3 separate regions of the Homo sapiens genome follow, and regions 1 and 3 are each linked to region 2. Evidence: promoter capture Hi-C in human tissues and cell types (Jung and others, 2019). All regions are on one chromosome and are shown on one strand. Each heading gives the region's core, a stretch centred on a gene start or on the middle of the fragment in contact. The rest is flanking DNA. Distances are from core to core; before and after follow the strand shown. Region 1 overlaps THADA (THADA armadillo repeat containing). Region 2 holds the start of PLEKHH2 (pleckstrin homology, MyTH4 and FERM domain containing H2). Region 3 overlaps PLEKHH2 (pleckstrin homology, MyTH4 and FERM domain containing H2).

The links. Contacts are between HindIII fragments. The study calls those that stand out against the background at their distance.
Region 1: a fragment that was not itself captured here is called in contact with the fragment with the promoter of PLEKHH2 in region 2 in 1 of the 25 tissues and cell types used here (aorta).
Region 3: a contact is called between a fragment that was not itself captured here and the fragment with the promoter of PLEKHH2 in region 2, in 1 of the 25 tissues and cell types used here (liver).

What each region holds. Positions count from the first base shown.
Region 1 is chr2:43,587,554-43,591,784 of GRCh38, reverse strand. THADA (THADA armadillo repeat containing) reads left to right here. Exons shown (of 38, transcript NM_022065.5): 4 at 831-961. Among named protein-coding and RNA genes, the nearest start is that of THADA, 6.4 kb to the left of the region's middle. The HindIII fragment of the contact is 4,219 bases long and covers 621-4,231 here.
Region 2 is chr2:43,634,570-43,638,790 of GRCh38, reverse strand. It overlaps PLEKHH2 (pleckstrin homology, MyTH4 and FERM domain containing H2), which reads right to left and starts at 1,531. Exons shown (of 30, transcript NM_172069.4): 1 at 1,412-1,531. RefSeq lists a silencer at 1,298-1,627. The HindIII fragment of the contact is 17,439 bases long and covers 1-4,221 here.
Region 3 is chr2:43,680,426-43,684,871 of GRCh38, reverse strand. The region is part of intron 3 of PLEKHH2 (pleckstrin homology, MyTH4 and FERM domain containing H2); the gene reads right to left. It also overlaps the pseudogene LOC100421122. Among named protein-coding and RNA genes, the nearest start is that of C1GALT1C1L, 6.2 kb to the right of the region's middle. The HindIII fragment of the contact is 4,210 bases long and covers 1,092-4,446 here.

The DNA.
Region 1 (4,231 bases), core at 1,481-3,980, 48 kb after region 2:
AGCAGCAATAGAAGCCATATTCAGACTTCTATCATAATTGAACTGTAAACAGATAAGGTAGAAGATAATGTGCATACCTCTTTTGTGGAGATAAATTTTAAAATATATGAATCTTCAAAACTTTTTAGCAGACACATTTAAAAGTTAATTTAAAATATAAAGATTATACTTATTAGTATTTCAGTATTAGGATTTACCATTTGAGCACACATAGTTTTTTTTTTTGGAAAGCAAGTAAATGTATTACTGGTTTTTTAATAGTGCTACAGCTGTTCTTTACTGTAAGCCATTAACAGGTCTGTGATTCTCTGTGGAGGTGGGTCTGGAGGGTAAAGAGGGAGGTGGGGACATGAGTTTAAAAAGTTAATAAATAGTGAAATAGGTGTTTAAATCAGTATCCTTGACAGTGGAGTATGGAAAACATTTCACGTAATTGACACTTTGTTTTATTTATTTTTTTGAGATAGGGTCTCACTCTCTTACCCAGGCTGGAGTGCACTGGTGTGATCTTGGCTCAACCACAGCCTCAACCTCCTGGGCTCAAGCAATCCTCCTGCCTCAGCCCCCTGAGTAGCTGGGACTACAGGCATGTGCCACCATGCCTGGCTAATTTTTGTATTTTTTTGTAGAGACAGGGTTTCACCATGTTGCCCGAGCTTGTCTCGAACTCTCCTGGGCTCAAGCGATCTGCCCACCTCAGCCTCCCAAAGTGTTGGGATTACAGGGGTGAGCCACTGTACCCAGCAATTGAGACTTCAAAGAGTATCTGTAACCATGTTACTTTGCTATATTTGATATTATAAAAATTACTTCAATGTTTTGTATTATAGATTGTGCCTCTGCTGGAGAAAGCAGATAAAAATGGCATGTGTGATCCCACTATTCAAAGTTGTTTGGATATCTTAGCAGGCATTTATCTTTCTTTGAGTCTAAAGAATCCCTTGAAGAAAGTATTGGCAAGGTAAGAAAAAAAGGAAGGGAAGTTGGGTGTTATAAATGTTGAATTTGACCAAAAGTAACTGAAGTTCCTTCCTTGGTTTGATAAAACTGAACTGATACAGATCACAAAAAGTTCATTCATATGGTTTGTTCTCTGTTTCATTGATTAGTTACAACTATTTTTTTTTTTTTTTTTTTTTTGAGACGGAGTCTAGCTCTGTCGCCCAGGCTGGAGTGCAGTGGTGCGATCTTGGCTCACTGTCAGCTCTGCCTCCCGGGTTCACGCCATTCTCCTGCCTCAGCCACCACACCCGGCTAATTTTTTGTGTTTTTAGTAGAGATGTGGTTTCACCATGATAGCCAGGATGGTCTTGATCTCCTGACCTTGTGATCCGCCTTCTCAGCCTCCCAAAGTGATGGGATTACAGGTGTGAGCCACTGCGCCCAGCCTAGTTACAACTTTTTAAAAGTATAAAAAGCCTTCTTAGGTCACATGCTTAATAAACAGGCTGTGGGCTGTAGTTTGCTTACTCCTGCCTCAATCCATTTACATTTATTGGTTATGTTTAAATGTCATCTTGCTGTTTTTTCCTCTTTTTGTCCTATCTGTTCTTGGTTTAAATATATATTTACACAGATAACACAGGAATATAGGCTTGGTATAAAAATTTCAAATGATATAGAACTATACAAAATAAAAACTAAGGCTTCCATTTCATTGTTTAGGGCTTATCTTACTTTTCTTAGTAAAGATTGTCACTTACCGTTTTGGTATTTATCTTTCTAGACCTTCTCTTTGAGGTCAGCATATGTGTGTTACATTCTACTTTTTTTATATATATCTGTAAACGAGATTATACTCTACAGAATGCTCTGTAGCTTGTTTTTTCACTAAAGAATGTCTTAGAGATATTTCCATGTCATAAAATCCTAATTGTAGTAAAAGACATATAACATAAAAACTCAGTCTTAACCTTTTTTTTTTATGAATTCTTTTTTTTTAAATTTTAATTTTCATTTCGATAGGTTTTTGGGCAACAGGTGGTACTTGGTTACATGAATAAGTGGTGGTTTCTGAGATTTTGGTGCACACATCACCTGAGCAGTGTATACTGTACCCAACAATTTGTAGTCTTTTATTTCTCACCCCCTTCCCACCCTTTCCCCTGAGTCTCCAAAGGCCATTGTATCATTCTTATGCCTTTGCATCCTCATAGATAAGCTTCCACTTATGAGTGAGAACATATGATGTTTGAGTCTTAACCATTTTTAAGTGTACATAGTTCGCTATTGTTAAGTGTATTCATATTGCAGTGCAATGATCTCTAGAACCTTGTCATCTGCTAAGCTCTGAAACTGTATACATTAAGTAACAACTCTCCATTTCCTGCTCAGCCCTTGGCAGCCACTTTCCGTTCATAAATTTGATTACTTTAGATACCTCATATTAGTGTAATATTTGTATTTATATTTTTGTGACTGACTTATTTCACTTAACATAATGTCCTTAAGGTTCATCCCTGTTATAGCATATGACAGGATTTTCTTCTCTTATAAGGCTTAATATTCTGTTGTATGCATATACTGCATTTTTTTCATCCATGCATCTTTCAATGGACATTTGGGTTGCTTCCACTGCTTGCCTGTTGTGAATAATGCTGCTATGAACATGGGTGTGCAAATATCTATTTGAGATCCTGCTTTCAGTTCTTTGGATATATACCCAGAAGTGGGATTGCTGGACCATATGGTAATACTATTTGTAATTTTTTGAGCAACTGTCATACTGTTTTCCATATGCAACATTTTACATTCCCACCAGCAGTCCTTACTTTTTCAGCTATAAATATTCTGTAATATGAATATACCAAAATTTAAATGTACCATATATATGACATGTATGTATCTATATATGGTACATATTACATGATTTATATTACATGGTATAAAGTAATTTAATCACTTCCCCATTGCAGTGATATTCTTATGTATATAATTATATATGTGTATTTCTCTGAGATAAATTCCAAGAAGTGGAATTTCTGGACCAAAAATTAGGCCTATTGAAATTCTTGGTAGATATTGTTAAATTGTACTCCCCCAGACTACCCATTGAATTAGAATGCTTGTTTCTTCTTCATATATTTCCAACATTGGATACTATCAATCTTTAAATCTTTTAAAATCTAATGAAGGAAAATGCTATCATTATAATTTGTGTATCCCAGATTACTAGTGTAATTGAACATTTTTTAATGTGTGGAATTTGACTTTTTTTATTACATATTCTTTGTACATTTTCTTGTTAGAATGTTTTCTTGATTTATAAGACTTCTCTATAGATCATATGCCAAATACATTCCTTTGTTACTTGTCTTTAACTTTCTCATGGTGTCTTGTCTTTACAAAAATTAAAATATTATTTTGGTTATCAATTCAGCTAATTTTTGTGTATGTAGATTTCTGAGTTTTATACCTTGCTATATGTGCTTTCTGTAATACAAGATTATTTAAAACATTATTTGCAGGCCTTATACTATTTTTTTTTTTTTTGCTCAACTTTTATGTCCATCTGGAATTAAGCTTTGAATGTAGTGTGAGGTAGGGATTCAATTTAGTTTTCTTTTTTATATGGGGAACCACTTACCCAAACTGTTGAATCGTCCATCTTTGCCCACATATTTGGAATGCCACCTTATTGTGTTATATGTTCACATATATACATGGGTTTGATTTCTGAGTTAGGTCCAATTATTCATACACCAACACCACACTTTTATTTACTATAGTTTGATAAAGTGTTTTAATTATATGTCAGTGTTAAGTCATCCCTCTAGTGACTCTTCTTATTCTGAATATTCCCATTTTTGAATTATTTTCTTCCAGAAAAACTTTGAACTGTCCAGTTATATTTAAAACAAAGCCAATCAGTTTTGATGTATATAAATTGAGGCAAAATTGATATGTTTAATTTACTCATTTGATAAATTTTTATTGACTGCCTACTGTGTTTCAGCACTCTTCTAGGAACTGGGGGTAGAATGAATGAAACAGTCCAGAATGGAGGTTACATTCTAAGGGGAAGATAGAAAATAGACAAAATAAATAAGTAACATTTATAGGATATTAGATGGCATGAGTGCTATCTAAAAGCGGGAAGGAAGGAAAGGGGACATAAAGGATGGGGTGAGGGTTACAATTTAAAATATTATGGTCACTTCATATAGCTTTGCTCAGACATGATAAGGTAATTGAGATTGACCTGAAAGGGATGAGGCAGTGATTGCTGGGT
Region 2 (4,221 bases), core at 282-2,781:
TAGTGCACCATCTTGGGTAGTTAAAAATTCTAATTTTAAACAATATCCGCCATCCTTTTCATTACCACTAATGTTATAGAACTATATAACATTGGGAATATATATATAACTATATAACATAGCCGACTGCTAAATAAAGAAAATACCACATATAGATTCTGAATTTGAAAGGAATCTATCATGTCTAGATTCTGCATTTGAAAATAATCTATCTTCACTTCAGGGGACAGGAAAAAGTCTTGGAGTTCCAAATACCCCCAGTGATTTTTGGAAGTATTTACTGACATAAGATAAACTGTTTACAATTGTGGAGTGAATGCTCTTTTCTCTGAATCTCTGACTTCCTGTTTCTCTTCCAAATCCCAAAAAGGAAAGAAAAAGAAATGAAAGAATTATTCTACTTAGGCTTACCCTGATGAAGCGCAGCGTTAGTCTCTATGATATTCTTTAGTTTTTGCCTCTTAAGGGACAGCTTAACTGGGCTGGGTAATCGTGTGTGTGAGTGTGTGTGTGTGTGTGTGTGTGTGTGTGTGTGTGTGTGTTAAAAGATCTTTCTCGACGAGACTGAGGCATGCCTTGTTTAAGGAACCTTCTGACCACCACCTAGCCACCTAGCCCCACTTGGGCAACGCCTGCCCTTCGGTGACCCTGCCCAGAACAGCCGAGCTCCTCACTACATACTCCTCTGGGACACACCGCTGTGCGGGCCAGGCTTCCAAGACTGGCATTTTCACAAAGAAAGCAGTGACCCTCAGGTAGCCCACCACCAGAGCTTTTCCAATGTAAGTGGTTCGACTTCTATTTCCACAGCGTTACGCACAACAATATCGACGGGTAAAAAGTGTTGTCCTTTAAAAAGTGCCCCACTAACTTCGGGGACAGTGGTTTCCGGGTAGGTCACCTTAGGGTGCTTTGACGTGCCAGCAACTCGAGGTGTACAAAATGCTTCTTTAAAGTTTTGAGTTTAAAGTTTCGCCCCGGAGATCCTGGTGGATCTCCCGAAGCCTAAGGCGAGCGCGGCATCCCTGACCGCGCGGGTCCCTCGGCTCGGGGACCCTGGGCTGCCCCGCTGCGCCCCCGGGACCGCTCGCGCCGCGCCAGAAGCCCGGGCCCAGTGTTTCCAAACAGAACGTCACGGGAGCCCACGGGCGCGAGGGACCGCCGGCCACCGCCCCCTGCCCACCTCTCCCGGCGACATCCAGACTTGGGGGCCGACTCTGGGCTGTGGCGGGAGGTGCAGCGGCGGATCCCGAGTCAGCCCGCTCCGTCCCTCTCGTCCCCGCCTTCCCGCTCCTCCCGGCGCCCCAAACCTCGGCCCCGCGAGCCCCCCTGGACGGGGCGCCCTCAAGGGGGCGGGGATCCCAGGGTGGCAGGAACTCTGGAGTGGCCCCTCGTCCCCGGGCTTTCTCACCTGTCTATCTCAGCAGCGGGTCCCCGGCCGCAGCGCCCGATGTCCCGGCCGCGACTGGCCCCCGGGATCCCCGGACTCTCAGCCCGCGCCCGCCTCAAGCCGAGCTCGGAGAGGGCGGGGAAGGGCACCGCCTCCTCCAGGGACTGGCAGCCGGTGTAGCCAATGGGAGACCACAGCCGACCACCGGGCGTCACCGGGGGTGTGGCTATAACTTTGGCTCCTCCCAGTCCCTGCCCCAGGAGGGAGCTCTGTCCTGGAGTGGTACCCCTAACGTCCCAACTGCGAGACTCCAGAGCTTGCTGCAGCGGCCGGTCACCTTCATTCCACTCCGTCTGCCTGGACTGTTGCAGCACCCTCCCTTGGTCTCCCAGTCTGAAGTCTCTCCTCTTGCCAATCCACCCTTCATCTTCCTGCCAGGTTAATTTCCTTAAGAGCAGTTTTGATGAACAGTGTGCCAAAGACTTTCATTGGCTTCCGTTTGCTTAAATTATCAAGAACAGATTCCCTAGTCTAGTGTTCAAGGTCTCCATCCCGTCTTTTCAGGTTTATTTCTCACAGCTGCCCTTCACACACCTGAGACTACTGCTGTGCACCTCGCCACCCGAAGGAAGTGGCACTAGGAGCGTTTACATGCTATTTCCTGTCTCCACTTCAAAAAGCTCAGAATAATCTTCTCACCGGGCGCAGTGGCTCACGCCTGTAATCCCAGTACTTTGGGGGACCGAGGCAGGTGGATCACTTGAGGCCAGGAGTTCGAGACGAGCCTGGGCAACATGGTGAAACCCTGTCTCTACCAAAAAAAAAAAAAAAATATATATATATATATATATATATACACACAAAAAAAAAAAATTAGCTGGGCTTGGTGGCGCTCACTTGTAGTCCCAGCTACTCAGGAGGCTAAGGCTGGAGGATTGCTTAAACACAGGAGATGGAGGCTGCAGTGAGCCGCGATCATGCCACTGCACTGGATCCTGGGCGACTGGGCGAGATCCTGTCTCAAATCATCATCATTATCATCATCATCATCATCATCATCTTCTCCATGTAACTATGTCTGTCGCTCCACCTGGCAGAAATGTCGTCTCTGGGCCGGGCGCAGTGGCTCATGCCTGTAATTCCAGCACTTTGGGAGGCCGAGGAGGGCAGATCACGAGGTCAAGAGATCGAGACCATCCTGGCCAACATGGTGAAACCTGGTCTGTACTAAAAATACAAAAATTAGCTGGGCGTGGTGGTGCACGACTGTAGTCCCAGCTACTCGGGAGGCTGAGGCAGGAGAATCGCTTGAACCTGGGAAGCGGAGGTTGCAGTGAGCCAAGATAGCACCACTGCACTCTAGCCTGCCTACAGAGCAAGACTCCATCTGAGACAAAAAAAAAAAAAAAGGTCTTCTCTGGTTTCTGCTCCCTGAACATCTAGATTTTTGCCTCTCTTGGGGCTTAGCTCCCTCTGCCTTATGCACAGCTCCTCACATCTCTTTTAGACTGTGAGCACTTTGAAAACAAGGATTTGTGGTTTTTTTTTTTTTTTTGCATTCTCCTCAGCACAGAGCATATTGCATAAGTAAATTAGTGATAATTTAAATCCAGGTGAATTTTACATCCCAACTTAGGGTCTGGAGAGGTCAATCTCAGGGTAAAATAAAGAGAATTCTGAATGTTATGGATAATCGTTCCCCAGGTCACAAAGCTAGGTCAGACAGATTATTCTCTTTGGTTCACAGTTGGCCAATAGAGAGTATCAGAAAAACTTTTTCTACTACAATCTTTTTTTTTTTAACTTTATCTCATCTTATATAAAACACACACACACACACACACACACACACACACACACACACACACACACAGAGGATGGGCACAGTGGCTCATGCCTGTAATCCCAGCATTTTGGGAGACCAAGGCGGGCAGATGACTTGAGGTCAGGAGTTTGAGACCATCCTGGCCAACATATCGAAACCCCATCTCTACTAAAAATACAAAAATTAGCTGAACATGGTGGCATACGCCTGTAATCCCAGCTATTCAGGAGGCTGAGACAGGAGAATCGCTTGAGCCAGGAAGGCAGCAGTTGCAGTGAGCTGAGATCGCACCACTGCACTCCAGATTGGGTGACAGAGCAAGACTCTGTCTCAAAAAAAAGGAAAGAAAAAACCACAAAAGAGATAAAGATTTTCAAAGTTTCTCAGAGGAAAAGCAATAAGTGAATACAACTAAAAGTCCAGTAAGCAAGTATCAGGCTTTCATATTTCTTCCAGATGAGCATTAATTTTGAACAGGATCCCAGACTACCCCCACACATCAAATTCCTTTTGCCTTCTGTGGGAGCTGATGATGCATATCATATGAAAAATTGTCTTCAAACAGCTTTGGCAAACAAGCAGACTGGACTGGGCTTATTTTATAGAGCACGCAGGAGTTAAACAAACAGAGTTTCAGTAACTTGCATAATTTAACACAGCAAGTCAGTAGAGACCAAGCAGGAGAAAGAGAGAAAGAATGCCAAAATAGAATCACTTCCGTTTGTGAGTCAGAAATACTAATTAGACTAAAAGAACTGAGTGAATAAAGTCACTCATGAAAAGCCGCTTTGTAAACACGGCTGCCACCCTTGTAAGGCTTAGCCAATATTTACTTACTGTCACCTTTTTCTAGAAACATGACAAACTGAATTTGTCTGGGTATGGAGAATACAGCGGAACAGCATCCTATCTTTGTCTATGCTGAGAAAAACACATGGTACAATGGAATATTATTCAGTGGTAAAAAGAAATAAAGTACTGATACATGCTACAACATTGATAAACC
Region 3 (4,446 bases), core at 1,947-4,446, 44 kb before region 2:
ACATGGAAACTCTGAGAGATTTGTAATTCTCTCTCTTTTTTTTTTTTTTTTTGGTAATGGGAGTAGCAGTATGTCTAAAATAACCAATCCTGGTGTATTTTTGCTTAAAGATATAGCACATAGAATTAAATAACTTTATACCCAACATCCTCAAAGAACAACTTCAAAGGAGAGAAGTCCTTCCTGTCAAACTTACCAAGACCAGTGGTTGGCCCTGATGGCAACAAACCTCTGTGGTTTGCTTCCCTTGAATCGGGAACAAGGATCCTTTTTTAAAGACTCCTCACTGGATCTCATAAGACCCAAGGAATTGGGGTGGGGCAGGGGTCGGTGGGGGGCGGGTGTAGATAGTTGAAAATCACAAATAAAAAATACTTAATTTAGTTTAATTTTCAAAAACAAACAAATTTGCCACATATTATGAATTAAGAATTTTAAATTAAGGCAAAACAAAACCATCCTCAATTTTTTTCTCTTTTTCCCATAATATGGGCAGTTAAAGGAGAGAAAGGAAGGGAAGGGAAAGATAGGGAAGAACAGATAGATTACATATAGAGACATATAGACACAGCCAGGGTACAGAGGTAAAGAAAGATGCTACTAGGAAGGCCAAAGTCAGAAAACACAAGACAATGAAGGAAAAAGAAGGGAAGGGAAAGGAAGGGGAAAAGAAGGGAAGGAGAAAAGAAGGAAAAGGAAGGGGAGTATAGTATCATATCCTATATGATACTATAGAAGAGGATACACAGCATTATACATTTGTCAAAATCCATAGAACATAAAACACCAAGAGTAAACACTAATGTAAACTATGGGATTTGGGTAACAATGATGTGTCAGTGTTGGTTCATCAGTTGTAATAAATGTACCACTCTGGTGTTGGATGCTGATGGTGAAGAAAGCTTGAATGTGTGTTGGAGGGGAGAGGATATATGAAAGCTCTGTACTTCATACACCATCAATTTTGCTGTAAATCTGAAACTGCTCTAAAAATTAAAGTCTGTTTTTAAAAAAGCAATAACCTCCCTGATGAAATCATTGATTTAAACAAGGTAATCAATGGCTGCTAATATCACCAAAAAAAAAAGAGAGAGAGAGAGATAACTAGACATCCACCTCCTGGTGGAGGTCAACAATATCACCCAAGAAGTAGTCTTGAAAAAAGAGAAAGAAAAGTCAAATTTTTAGATCTAACTATATTTTACAGGAAATATAGGGGAAGAGGAGCTTGTTAAATCACATCATAGGTATGCAATAGGCAAACTCCAGAATGTGGAAAGCTTTAGAGAACAAATTAACCCATACAAATAAGTTGAAAGAAAAAAGGAAAAAAGACCCTATAAATTAAAAGAGTTTAAGAATCAAATGAAATGTATCAATCTAGTTTAGATCCCAATTTGAACAAACTAACTATTAAAAACAAAAAAAAAGAGGGCCGGGCGAGGTGGCTCACACCTGTAACACCAGCACTCTGGGAGGCCAAGGTGGGCGGATCACCTGAAATCAGGAGTTTGAGACCAGCCCGACCAACATAGAGAAATCCCATCTCTACTAAAAATACAAAATGAGCTAGGCGTGGATGCCTGTAATCCCAGCTACTCGGGAGGCTGAGGCAGGAGAATGGCTTGAACGTGGGAGGCGGAGGTTGTGGTGAGCCAAGATCGTGCCATTGCACTCCAGCCTGGGCAACAAGAGCAAAACTCCATCTCAAAAAAAAAAAAAAAAAAAAGGGTATATAAATAAAAGAATTAAAAAGGGGTACTCAAACAAATATATGTACGTTCTTAACAGCACTAGTCACAATAGTCAAAAGATGAAAAGGTAGAATAGGTAGGGCACAGGAGACATCGAGGGCAGTGAAAGTCCATAAAAAGACAATGTCCATAAAAAGTCAAATGGATAAACAAATTGTGTGTGTGTGTGTGTGTGTGTATATATGGAACATTATTCAGCCATAATGAGGAATAAAGCATGACACATGCTACAACGTGGATAAATATCAAAAACATTCTGCTAAATGAAAGAAGCCAGACACTAAAGATCAAATAGTATATAAATCCATTTATATGAAATATCCAGAATAGGTAAATCCATAGCAACAGAAAGCAGATTGGTGGTTGCCAGGGGCTAGTGGGAGGGGGAAATGGGACTAAATGCTTAATGAATAAGGTTTCCTTTTGAGATGAGTTTCCTTTCGACATTTTGGAACTAGATAAAGGTGATGATTGTACACAACACTGAAATGTTCATTTAAAAATGTTAATTTTGGCTGGGCACGGTGGCTCATGCCTGTAATCCCAGCACTTTGGGAGGCCAAGGGGGGCAAATCACAAGGTCAGGAGTTCGAGACCAGCCTGGCCAACATGGTGAAACCCCATCTCTCTAAAAATACAAAAAATTAGCCAGGCGTGGTGGTGGGTGCCTATAGTCCCAGCTACTCGGGAGGCTGAGGCAGGAGAATCGCTTGAACTCAGGAGGTGGAGGTGGCAGTGAGCTGAGATGGCACCACTGCACTCCAGCCCAGGTGACAGAGTGAGACTGTCTCAAAAAAAAAAGTTAATTTTATGTTATGTGAATTCCACTTTGATTAAAGAACAAAACACAGAAGCAATTATTAGCTATTTGGAAAAATCTGAATACTGACTAGATCTTTGATATACTGAAGAATTACTGGTAATTTTTTGGTGTGATGATGGTATTGTGGTTATGATTTTTAAGGGTGTTTGGTTTCAGATTAGTATAGTATATAATAATGGATGAAATTATACCATGTCTGGGATTTGCTTTTCAATAGTCCAGTGTGAGGGGGGCAGGGGAAGTGGGTGGAGGTACAGATGAGGCATGACTTGACTAATTGTTGAAGTGGGTGATGCGGGTTCACTATACTATTTTCTCTACTCTTGTATGTGCTTAAAGTCTTGCCTAATAAAGTTGTAAGATTTCCTTTTCAAGCATAATTAAAAAAATCAAAGATTAGGCTACATTGGGCTTATTTAGAAATCTATTAGGCACTTACTCTACCCTATAAAATTAAAACTTTCATGTATCTGCTGAATCTAAAATAAAAATTGAGGGTGATGGGGCCTGGTGGGGAGAGGGTCCAGAGTAGGCTCTCAGACCCGAAACTGAATGGGGTGTCTGGGGCATCAGGGAGCTCCCTTGCCTGGCCCTCAGTGGCCTGATGGAGTAAGAGCGTTTGGTTGAGTGATTCAGATCTGGTCACTATGGTAGGAGAACAAAAATGCATATTGTGTCATATCGTGTACAGCTCCAAAAAGAGGCACTAGTCATGAGTGCCGAAGGTGCGGGCCCACAGAAGTGAGTCTTTCTGCATACGCAAAGCACATTTCTGGCCAGCTGCACAAAGATAACGTTGATGCCCAGGAAAGAGAAGATGATGGAAAAGGAGAGGAAGAGGAAGAAGATTATTTTGACAAGGAACTCATTCAATTAATAAAACAAAGGAAAGAACAAAGTCGACAAGAACCTTCCAGTAGCAGCCAAGAAGTAAATTCTGATGACAGGTGACCCCAATGGAGCTGAGAACACCAAATTCCTCACCAACACAGACAGAGTTACAGTCAGCCAGCATGGCATCACCCTGGACCTCCACAGGAGGATTGTAATTGGAAAAAAGATCGCTTTAATAATACATGGAGAAACAGCTTTCTGTATTCTTTGAGGAATAGTGGTGGACCAAAAGGATGTTCTGAGTGGCATTAGAGTGTTGCAGGAGGCTCCTTGACTTGGTTTCACAACCATAGTAATTCTGGAGTTGGTTGGCATTCAAATAGTGGAACAGTAGATTGGAATCATAATGGTACAGGAAGGAATTCCAGTTGGCATTCTGAGGGAACAGGTGACTTTTCCAGTTGGCATATGAACAACAGTAACGGAAACTAGAAATCCAGTGTATGTAGTAAAAATAATTGCAACTAAAGTGGCCCTGGACATAAATTTCAACCAGGCAGAAACAGAAATTCTACTTGTCAAATGGAAGATGTGACTATGCTATGGAACAAGAAATCAAATAAGTCAAGCAAATACAATCAAGAAAGATATAATTGGTAGTGTCAAGAAAATGAGAAACTTGGAATGACAAACTTTGTACGGCTGCCACATATAGAGGTCCTTCTGAAAGATTTACAAGTGATAAATTTCCTTCGGAAGGCTTACTTGACTTCAATTTTGAGCAGCCAGAAAGCCAAACCACTAAACAAACAGACACTGCAACTTCCAAAATTAGTGGAAAGAACAGCAGTGCAGCAACGGGGAAAGCCTTGTTGCCAGACTCCTTACCCTTCTAAAATAAAAATTAAAAAGGAAAAAGATTTGGTAGTACTCAAGTTGAAGGAAGGAAACATGACAAACTTAGAGGAAGCATAAGGAATTTCATATGCACTTCTTAGGAGAAATAATTTTGTATTTAAGCCTTTTTTTTCTTTT